2 separate regions of the Homo sapiens genome follow, and region 2 is linked to region 1. Evidence: promoter capture Hi-C in 16 types of primary human blood cells and fetal thymus (Javierre and others, 2016). All regions are on one chromosome and are shown on one strand. The core of a region is centred on a gene start or on the middle of the fragment in contact, and the rest is flanking DNA. Distances in the headings are between cores, read along the strand shown. Region 1 holds the start of KGD4 (alpha-ketoglutarate dehydrogenase subunit 4). Region 2 overlaps SLC30A5 (solute carrier family 30 member 5).

Region 1 (5,787 bases), core at 1,483-3,982:
CTTAGACTTTTGAGCCTCCTGAACATGAGAAATAAATTTCTGTGGTTATAAATTACCCATACTAAGGTATTTTGTTACAGTAGCACACATGGACTAACAGAGGAGCTAATCAACATTTATAGAATACTCCACCAAACAACAGCAGAACACTCTTTTCAAGTGCTTACAGAACATAAACAACATAGACCATATCCTGGATGACAAAATATCAACAAATATAAAAGAATTGAAATTATACAGACTGTGTTCTGACTACAAGGGAATCAAATGAGGAATCAGTAACAGTCAGATAACAGGAAAATTTCCAAATACTTGGAAACTGAACACACTTTTAAATGAGGCATAGGTCAAAGGAGTCTCAAATGAAAATTTTCTAAAAAGCATTGAACTGGGCCAGGTGCGGTGGCTCACACCTGTAATCCCAGCACTTTGGGAGGCCAAGGTGGGCGGATCACCTGAGGTCAGGAGTTTGAGATCATTCTGGCCAACACGGAGAAACCCTGTCTCTACTAAAAATACAAAAATTAGCTGGGCGTGGTGGTGGGCACCTGTAATCCCAGCCACTCAGGAGGATGAGGCAGGAGAATCAGTTGAACCCAGGAGGCAGAGGTTGCATTGAGCTGAGATCATGCCACTGCATCCAGCCTGGGTGTCACAGCGAGACTCTGTCTCAAAAAAAAAAAAAAATTATCGGCTGGGCACGGTGGCTCACACCTGTAATCCCAGCACTTTGGGAGGCTGAGGCGGGCAGATCACGAGGTCAGGAGATGGAGACTATCCTGGCTAACACAGTGAAACCCTGTCTCTACTAAAAATACAAAAAAAATTAGCCTGGTGTGGTGGCGGGTGCCTGTAGTCCCAGCTACCTGGGAGGCTGAGGTGGGAGAATGGTGTGAACCAGGGAGGCGGAGCTTGCAGTGAGCCGAGTTGGCACCACTGCACTCCAGCCTGGGTGACAGAGCAAGACTCTGTCTCAAAAAAAAAAAGAATTACCACAGATGAATGGATAAGCAAAATGTGGTATACACATATAATGGGATTTTTTCAGCCTTAAAAAAGAAATTCTGACACATTCTACAACATGAATGAACTCTGAAGACATGCTAAGTGAAACAAGCTAATTACAAAAGGACAAATACTGTTATGGCTCCACGTACATTAAGTACCCACAGTAGTCAAATTCATAGACAGAAAGTAAAATGATAGTTGTCAGAGGCTGAGGGAAGGAGGAATAAGTTTTTGTTTAATGGGTACAGTTTCTGAAGATGGTAACAATTGCCCAACAATGTGAATGTACTTAATGTGACTGAACTGCACATTTGAAAATAATTAAAATGGGGCCAGGCGCAGTGGCTCACGCCTGTAATACCAGCACTTAGGGAGGCTGAGGTGGGTGGATCACTTGAGGCCAGGAGTTGGAGATTAGTCTGGCCAATATGGTGAAACTCTGTCTCTACCAAAAATACAAAAATTAGCCAGGCGTGGTGGCGGGCGTCTGTAATCCCAGCTACTGGGGAGGCTGAGGCTGGAGAATTGCTTGAATCCAGGAGGCAAAGGTTGCAGTGACCTGAGATCACGCCACAGCACTCCAGGCTGGGCAACAGAGCGAGACTCCGTCTCAAAAAAAAAAAAAAAAACCACAAAAACAAAACAAAACAAAACGGGTTAATGGCCTCTCTGTAGTCACTGAATCCCAATAGACCATACCTGGGTTCAGTAATTTATATTTCTAAAAAGATCCCAAGACTTAGAAATCACTGATGTATATCATCAAACACATTGGTCAAGCTTACAATACTATATATAACCTAAGCATTATCACAGAACGTAATGTAACTTTTTTTTTTTTTGAGACGGAGTCTCCCTCTGTCGCTCAGGCCGGAGTGCAGTGGCACACTCTCGGCTTACTGCAACCTCTGCCTTCTGGGTTCAAGCAATTCTCCTGCCTCACCTCCTGAGTAGCTGGGACTACAGGCGCCCGCCACCACGCCCGGCTAATTTTTGTATTTTTAGTAGAGACAGGGTTTTACAATGTTGGCCAGTCTGGTGTCGAACTCCTGACCTCAAGTGATCCGCCCGCCTCAGCCTCCCAAAGTGCTGGCATTACAGGCGTGAGCCATAGCGCCCCGCCCGTAATGTAATTTTGGGGGAAAGATATGAGTGGCTTACATTTCAAATATTTCTGAATTTTTGAGTTATCTCAACTTGAAGCAAAGGCCCAGCAGTTCGATATCAGGAGTAATAAACGGTAAAGAAAACAGAAACAAATTACAATCAAGCAATGCCAATCAGCAAGAGAGTGTGACATGGCCCTTTTTAAGCCAGAGTAAACTCTTGTGAGCTTGCCACTAACTCCCATTTTAACGAAATTATTCATTTTAGGAAACCGCAAGGTTTTTTTTTTGTTTTTCTTTAATTTTTTTAATCTTTGCAAGAGCTGTCAGATAAGAAGGTTGTATTATTTATTTGGTTCCAGATAAAATTTTGAACTATATCGAAATTATAGACTGGCTTTCTGGAAAGGAAATGGTCCTAGACAATTTATAGGCTAATGAGCAGAGACCCACCTTAACAAAATTTTGTCCCCAAAACGAAACAATAGAACACACGTGGGTGGATCCTAGTAGGGAGAAGGGGTGGGCGGGGTCAGGCACAGGGGGCGGAGCCAGCCCCACGGCGGAGGAGAGCCCAGTCCGGTCTCCGCCTCCGTGACGTCCCGGGAAGCACCGCCCACAGCTGCCCGGGACTCCAGTGATCGCCGCGGCTCGCTCGCGCCCCGGAAACTGCCCCTTCTCGGGGGTCATGATGGGCAGCAAGATGGCGTCTGCTAGTAGGGTCGTTCAGGTAAAGCAATTTGTCGCGTTTCCGCATCTTGGGCGGTAGGGACGGTGCTGACTATGGCGACGGCGTCGGGGAGTAAAGGCGGTGGCAGAGGCAGAGCGGTGACCGCGCCTCTGCGGAGGGCCAGTGACGGCGCCCGCGGGTGTGTGTGAGGATGGGACTTTGAGCCTGTTGGACCGGGCAGTGAGGTGGGTCCGGCGCCGAGGGTTCGAGCCTTGCGGCAACCGTGCAGCATCTTGGCAGGTAGGTCCTGTACCTACTGCCGGGATCCCCCGCTCCTCCGCCAGGACCTTGTTAGTCTTAGGCGTGTGCGGGTGAGGCGACCCTGGCGGTAGCCTGGCCAATCGCCGTCTAGGATTGGCTGTGGTGCCCCCGATCAGCCAATCGGAAGGAAGGCGGTAGCGGGGCGTGGAAGGAAGCGAACCCTGGATCTGACCCACTGTCCCTTCAAGGTCTCGGGAATGGTCGGGCAACTGGCCCCGCGTACTGCGTCCTCGCCGGAGCGGGTTCTCCCCAACCTCTCCAAGCGTCTGGCTACAGGCCAGATGAGGGAAATAGAAAAGTAAACTTAAGTTTAATTAGTATGTGTGTGTGTATATTAATGTGTGTGTGTGTGTGTGTGTGTGTGTGTATAAGCGTTGGTTTCACAAGCCTATTTTCCCCTGGTTTAGATAGACAGCTAAAGTAACTTTGTTAATCCACCTATCAGCTACTAACTCCTGATAGCCTTTTTATTTGTTTCTTCAGCTGTGGTTCTAACTTAGGTAAAATTATTATATAAGTGGAACACAACCTCCACTTTTGTGGTTGGTTTACATAGTCTTTGAACCCTGAAACTATATTATTTTATAATTGACTTTTATCTTTGATATGAGAAGTACATTCCGCTTTATATAAGTACATCTCTTAAAAGACCTTTTTCTAAATTCCTGAAATTGTTGTCTGAATGATAATCCTAGATCCCAGTCTTTGGTCCCATTGCAATGAATGATCCTTACTTATTCAGTAGGTAGTTACTGAGCATCAACTAGTTAAAGATTCTGTAAGGACTGAGAGACTGACAAAGGTCTGTTATCCATAATATATAACCATATGTATCAATAATATATAACAATTTAAAAATGGGTAAAAGACTTGGCGTGTTGCACAAAAGATACCCAAATGAGCAATGAACATTTTAAAAGGTGCTCAATATCATTACTTGCCAGGAAAATAAAAATTAAAACCATGAGGTCCTACACATCCACCAAAATGACTAAAATTTAGACGTCAGTGGTGATGAGAATGTGAAGCGTCTGAAACCCTCAATATTGCTGGTGGGAATATAAAATGTTATAGCCACTTTGGAAAGCTGTCAGTCTCTAATAGTTAAGCATGTATCTACCGTATGACCCAGCAATTCTACTCATAGGTTTATTGCCCAAGAGAAGTGAATGCACATACTGTCTCTGTACGTAAATGTTCACAGAAAAAAAAGAGTTACTAGCAAAGAACTGGGGTCCAGAGCTGAGGGGTTCCAGCCTGGCAGCAGGAGTGTGGCATCTCAGCAGGCAGGTACTATATATACTGCCATGGGGTCCCTGGCTCTATTTCTGATAGCCCCCAAACCACAAACAATCTCTATGTCTGTCTTTTGCATAAACAAATTGTGGTAGTTTGTTAAAATAGTACAGTCCAAAGCAATACTAACAGCTGATGTGTGCAAACAAATGAAGAAACTGTGAGATATACAGTAAGGAATGGTCTGTGCCCTTCTAACATAGGAACAAAGACCTGTACTCACCTATTTAGAATTCAAATCAGGTTCGTGATTGCGCTCTTAAAAAAAAAGAAAAAAAGAGAGAATACAACCAATATGCTAATATAATATCACTTGAGCCTAGGAGTTTGACGCTGCAGTGAACCACAATCACCCCACTGCACCCCAGCCTGTGTAACAGAGCAAGACCTGGTCTCGAAAAATAAATAATAAAGTATGTGCTAATATTATGTAATAATTACATATAACATTAGCAAAATTTGTTGAGTATCTCTGTGACAGGCCTATAAAGCTAGGACTACAGTGCCAGTTAGAGTTTAGGCCAGGCTCACTGATGTATGCCTGTAATCCCAACACTTTGGTAGTTTGAGGCAGGAGGATGGCTTGAGCCCAGGAGTTCAAGACCAGCCTGGGCAAAATAGCAAGACCCCATCTCTATAAAAATTTTAAAAAATTAGCTGAGCATGGTGATGTGCACCTGTGGTCCCAGCTACTCAGGAGGCTGAGGTGGGAAGATTGAGCCTGGGTGATCAAGGCTACAGTGAGCCATAATCATGCCACTGCATTCCAGCCTGGACAGTAGAGCTAGACCCTGACTCAAAAAAAAAAAACAAAAAAACATAGAGCTTAGAATTTGGTTGTTGATCCATATCTTGAAGGAAGAGAAGAGTGCCAAAAGACTGATTGGTACAAACTGATAGGAAGTCACAAAGCGTGGTCTCAGAACATTAAGTAAAGACAAAGCCAGCTGGGCACGGTGGCTCACACCTGTACTCCCAACACTTTGGAAAGCCAAGGTGGGAAGATTGCTTGAGCCAGGAGTTCAAGATTAGCCTAGGCAACATAGCAAGACCCCATCTCTATAAAAATTAGCCAGGCAGCCGCCCCGTCTGGGAAGTGAGGAGCGCCTCTGCCCGGCCGCCCCGTCTGGGATGTGAGGAGCGCCTCTGCCCGGCCGCCACCCCGTCTGGGAAGTGAGGAGCGCCTCTGCCTGGCCGCAGTGCAATCTTCCAAGTGTGAAGTGACAGCCTTTCTGCAGGTGTACCCAACAGCTCTGAAGAGACAGCAACCATCGAGAACGGGCCATGATGACGATGGCGGTTTTGTCGAAAAGAAAAGGGGGAAATGTGGGGAAAAGAAAGAGAGATCAGATTGTTACTGTGTCTGTGTAGAAAGAAGTAGACACA
Region 2 (5,787 bases), core at 1,185-3,684, 88 kb before region 1:
AGTCAATCATTTATTTAACCAATCCTCTGTTGTTGAACATTGAGGATATCTTTTGAATGTGTTATCTCTATATAACAAATAATGTGCATATGAATGTGTCCGTGTAAAGGAGAACTTGTAGTTCATTGAATGTGTCTAGGTCATGATTAGAATAGGCAGAGTTGTGCTGTATCAGGGAAAATAAGGGTACTGCTATTGATAAGAGCCCATTTTAGGTATAAAGATAACTGTAACAGCTGGGCACGGTGGTCCACACCTATAATCCTAGCACTTCGGGAGGCTGAGGTGGGTGGATTGCCTGAACTCAGGAGTTCGAGACCAGCCTGGGCAACATGGTGAAACCCCATCTGTACTAAAATACAAAAAAAAAAAAAAAAAAAAAATTTAGCCAGGCGTGGTGGCGTGCACCCGTAGTCAGCTACTTGGGAGGCTGAGGCAGGAGAATTGCCTGAACCTGGGAGGCTGAGGTTGCAGTGAGCCAAGATGGTGCCACTGCACTCCAGCCTGCGACAGAGCAAGACTGTCTCAAAAAAAACAAAAACGAACAAAATAAAGATACCTGTAACACCCATTTGCCTTCCTACTCAGAGCTGCCATACTAGCATCATTCCTAGGTGAGATTTTTTTTCCCCCACACATCTGTAGCCTCCAGAAATAGATCAGAATATTTTAGGCACCTTTACTTTAAGCTATTTTCCCATCTCCTATTCCTTCCTGCTTCTGGCTTCTCATTATGGCTGGTTTTTTGTTTGTTTTGTTTTGTATTTTAAAGAGCTTAATAGTGATCCTGGACCAAGGAATCTGTGTGTTTACTTTCTGTCAGAAAGCATCTCCATTGTGTTGTGTAAAGTAGCCTGTATGACCATTTATATCACCTCTTTTATTTGACAGATACAGAAAATTGAAGGATTAATATCATACCGAGACCCTCATTTTTGGCGTCATTCTGCTAGTATTGTGGCAGGAACAATTCATATACAGGTGACATCTGATGTGCTAGAACAAAGAATAGTACAGCAGGTAATCTTTTGTTTTTAAAGTAATTTTAATTGAGGTCATTCATACCCAAAATTGTACACCTCATAAGTTATATGGCTCAGTAGTCATTTACTATTCAGAAATATCAATCTTCCAACTCTTTTTTTTTTTTTTTTTTTGAGACAGGGTCTCACTCTGTTGCCCAGGCTGGAGTGCAGTGGCGTGATCTCGGCCCACTGCAACCTCCGCCTCCTGGGTTCAAGCAGTCTCCCTGCCTCAGCCTCCCAAGTCGCTGGGATTATAGGCACCCGTCACCATGCCCGCCTATTTTTGTTTGTTTGTTTGTATTTTTAGTAGAGATGGGGTTTCGCCATGTTGGCCAGTCTAGTCTCAAACTCCTGACCTCAGGTGATCCGCCTGCCTCGACCTCCCAAAGTGCTGGGTTTATAGGCAAGCCATCATGCCCGGCCTAATCTTCCAAATCTGTAACGGTAATATAGCTTACTTTTTACATCTAGATTTGTTTTATATCTAAAAATTGCTAAAATAAATGAAGTTTTGTGTTTAGAGGATAAGCTTTAATTAATATAAAAAAATTCATTTATGAGTTTGATTAATCTTGGTTTCCAGTAGATTATCAAAAAATAAGTTATTATAAATATATTCCTAAATTAGTAATAATCAACTTGGCAGGGTATATGCTATGTTTGGAGATAGAGGTCAGAATAGTTACTAAAGCCCTGTTCTAGATGTGCCAAATTGGAAACAATGGCTGTTTTCCTTTTCTACTGTGAATGTCAAATCAGTAATTTACTGACCTAAAAGAGTCTAATATTTTAACTAACTAAATGATGAATATTACTTCGAAGATTTATCTTGGACTACTGTAACTGTTTGTTTGTTTGTTTACTCATTCATTTTAGAGACAAGATCTCACTATGTTGCCCAGGCTGGTCTCAAACTCCTGGGCTCAAGCGATCCTCCTGCCTCAGCCTCCCTGGGCCACTGTGCCTGGCCTGTAACTATTTTAAAAATGTGACACAGGTTTAATATTCCTTATCTAAAATGCTTGGAACCAGAAGTGTTTTCGATTTGCGATTTTATTTTTTTTAATACTCGCATTACGCTTACCAGTTGAGCATCCCTAATCTGAAAATCCAAATCCAAAATGCTCCAATGAGCATTTCCTTTTAACACCATCTTGGCACTCAAAAAGTTTCAGATTTTAGAGCGTCTCAGATTTCGTATTTTCAGATTAAAGATACTCAACCCGTATCAACTATGTACAGCATATTAAGACGTGTGTACTAAATGCATTACTCTAAATGCTTCAAAATATCTGGATTTTTATAACAGGTTACAGGAATACTTAAAGATGCTGGAGTAAACAATTTAACAATTCAAGTGGAAAAGGAGGCATACTTTCAACATATGTCTGGCCTAAGTACTGGATTTCATGATGTTCTGGCTATGACAAAACAAATGGAATCCATGAAATACTGCAAAGATGGTACTTACATCATGTGAGATAACTCAAGAATTACCCCTGGAGAATAAACAATGAAGATTAAATGACTCAGTATTTGTAATATTGCCAGAAGGATAAAAATTACACATTAACTGTACAGAAACAGAGTTCCCTACTACTGGATCAAGGAATCTTTCTTGAAGGAAATTTAAATACAGAATGAAACATTAATGGTAAAAGTGGAGTAATTATTTAAATTATGTGTATAAAAGGAATCAAATTTTGAGTAAACATGATGTATTACATCATCTTCAAAAATAGATATGATGGATTCTAGTGAAGACCAAAATTACTTCTGTTTACTTTCTATCAGGAAGCATCTCCATTGTAAATATGTATTTACATGTTTATTACAAAGACCCAAATGAAAAATTTTTAGTCCATTTTTTGCATAGCCTAAAGATAAAATAGGAATAAAAGTTCTATATTTATGGATTTTCTGTATATAAAACTGGTTTCTAATTATAACTTAAGTCCATTAAGTAAAATCTGTATTGCCACTTTAAATGTAAACTAAATTATTTGGGAGAAACTTCAACCACTGATATGAGATAAGCAATGAGAATAGGGAAGTGTATAACATCACAGTTTTTGATGTATTACAAAAATCAACCACTCTATAAAATAAATTTTTTTTACTTTTGGTAATATTTGCAAATGAATAATTAATTTATTAGGGTAAAGAACTTATACTAAGTTGTGTCCATGTTATTCATTTACTTACCATGTTCCTTTAAAGTAGAATATTTCCTTTCTTGTTATATATTTGACATTCCAAGCTGCTTATCAAGCTGGTATCCAAGCAGTGGTAAGCTTTCATCCTTTCTTAGCTCCATAACGTTGTGAAACAGCCAGTTAAGAGAATCGTAAATAATTGTCAACTCACAGTTGAATTCTCTGCCTATGTAGGTAACTTTTTTCTAATTTCTGGAACATATAGATATATAAGAAATATCAAAGAATAGGTAGTTATTTCAAAGTTTAATAAGTAAAACTTGTTCATAAACATTTGAGCACCATGAAATCAAAATACCCTATAACTACTTTCTATAGTCATATCTAATTTATATTTTTTTCATTTCCAGTTGTAACTAGATATGTAGTAAAGTCTGAAAAGACTTTACCATAGACAATAACATGCAGTTTTATCAGCACCAAAGAATGTTGTCCAAAAGAAACTTTTTAATACCTGTCTTTCTATTTATAACATCTGAATATTTTCATTCTTATATTAAGAATTTTGATAAGTAGATTGAATTTAGTATGAGTACTATTTTCTTATATATACCACAATGGCAAACATGTATTATAAATCATATTTTTGTCTTACCAATTTTAATATATGAGGGGTTTTAGAAATTTGTTGTAAGTTATTTTTATATTCCTTGTCTTTTGCATATTTTTTGGCCAAAATCTTCAATACATATTAAAATTTTTGAGTGGTGGGAAAATAATTGCATATTGATGTTTTAATGCAATTTTTATACATTAAAAAATTAAGTAGATAGGTGCAATAAATATTACACCAAAGTTAAAATTGTCATTTCCCTTAGAAGACATATAAACAGCAAAAAAATTAATGTGATTGTGAGATATTAGAGTGAGAGAGAGCAGGGGCTGAAGGTTGGGGAGGTACAATTATAAAGTATGGAAACTCTAATATTGAAAGCACCAGGGTACTGTATTTCAGCTCATGCAAATCATGCAACTAGGCCAGGTGCAGTGTCTCTTGCCTGAAATCCTGGCACTTTGGGAGGCTAAAGCAAAAGGATAGCTTGAGCCCAGGAGTTTGAGAACAGCCTGAGCAACATAGCAAGATTCCATCTCTACAAAAATTTTTAAAAATTAGCTGGGGCATGGTGGCACATACCTCTTGGGAGGCTGAGGCAGGAGGATTGCTTGAACCTAGGAGGCCAAGGCTGCAGTGAGCCATGATGGCACCACTGCTCTCCAGCCTGGGTGACACAGAAAGATTTTATCTCAAAAAAAAAAAAAAAATTCATGCAACTTTAGGCAAATCAGCCTTTCTGAGGTATCTTTTTTTTTTCCTCATATATAAACTATATAAAACCTGCTCAAATTTACAGCACAGGATATGGGAACAAAAGGTATAATGTATGTGAAAATGCAGTGGAAGTTGAAAAAGGCTAAATAGGCCGGGTGCGGTGGCTCACGCCTGTAATCCCAGCACTTTGGGAGGCCGAGGTGGGCGGATCACGAGGTCAGGAGATCGAGACCATCCTGGCTAACATGGTGAAACCCTGTCTCTACTAAAAATGCAAAAAATTAGCCAGATGTGGTGGCAGGCGCCTGTAGTCCCAGCTACTCGGCAGGCTAAGGCAGGAGAATGGCGTTAACCTGGGAGGCGGAGCTGGCAGGCAGCCGAGATAGCACCACTGCACTCTAGCCTGGGTGACAGAGCAAGACTCCATCTCAAAAACAAAAAAGAAAAAGGCTAAATACGAAGAATTGTTACTTTTTAAGCCTGACTTCAAAGGTAGCCGTCATTAACTTGTCTCTTTTTTTCTATAAATTAGCATCTCAAGAGATTAATTAGATGTTTAACATATAAATAAGTTAAAAATAATGCCCAAAATAGAAGCCTGTTTTGAGGGAGGGGAGTTTGGATTTTTTTTTCAGAGACAAGGTCTCACTCTGTTGCCCAGGCTGGAGTGCAATGACATGATCATTGCTCACTGCAGCCTTGAACTCCTGAGCTCAAGCAATCCTCCCACCTCAGCCTCTCCAGTAGGTAGGACTGCAGGTGCACATTACCATGCCCAGCTAATTTATTGTTTGTAGAGACAGGGTCTCACCATGTTGCCCATGCAAGTCTCGGAACTCCTGGGCTCAAGTGATCCTCCCACCTCTTCTTCCCAAAGTATGAGGATTATAGCCATCCTGGCTAACACGGTGAAACCCCATCTCTACTAAAAATACAAAAAATTAGCGGGGCGTGGTGGCGGGCGCCTGTAGTCCCAGCTCCTCGGGAGGCTGAGGCAGGAGAATGGTGTGAACCCGGGAGGCGGAGGTTGCAGTGAGCCGAGATCGTGCCACTGCACTCCAGCCTGGGTGACAGAGTGAGACTCCGTCTCAAAAAAAAAAAAAAAAGAAAGAAAATAATACAATCATTTATGGCTTTTTGTGTTTTATTTATGTTTTTATTTATTAGTTTTTAGAGTCTCGCTCTGTCGCCAGGCTTGAGTGCAGTGGTGCAATCTGGCTCACTGTAACCTCCACCTCCTGGGTTCAAACGATTCTCCTGCCTCAGCCTCCTGAGT

The links. Contacts are between HindIII fragments. The CHiCAGO score rates a contact against its expected background, and 5 or more counts as called.
Region 2: a contact is called between a fragment that was not itself captured here and the fragment with the promoter of KGD4 in region 1, in 1 of 17 cell types (total B cells). The highest score is 5.4, in total B cells.

The regions. Positions count from the first base shown.
Region 1 is chr5:69,215,028-69,220,814 of GRCh38, forward strand. KGD4 (alpha-ketoglutarate dehydrogenase subunit 4) reads left to right here and starts at 2,733. Exons shown (of 4, transcript NM_033281.6): 1 at 2,733-2,844. The coding sequence starts at 2,803. RefSeq lists enhancers at 3,015-3,309, 4,958-5,582. The HindIII fragment of the contact is 5,941 bases long and covers 1,787-5,787 here.
Region 2 is chr5:69,127,113-69,132,899 of GRCh38, forward strand. SLC30A5 (solute carrier family 30 member 5) reads left to right here. Exons shown (of 16, transcript NM_022902.5): 15 at 892-1,020; 16 at 2,335-3,957. The coding sequence ends at 2,505. Among named protein-coding and RNA genes, the nearest start is that of SNORA50D, 31 kb to the right of the region's middle. The HindIII fragment of the contact is 1,765 bases long and covers 1,553-3,317 here.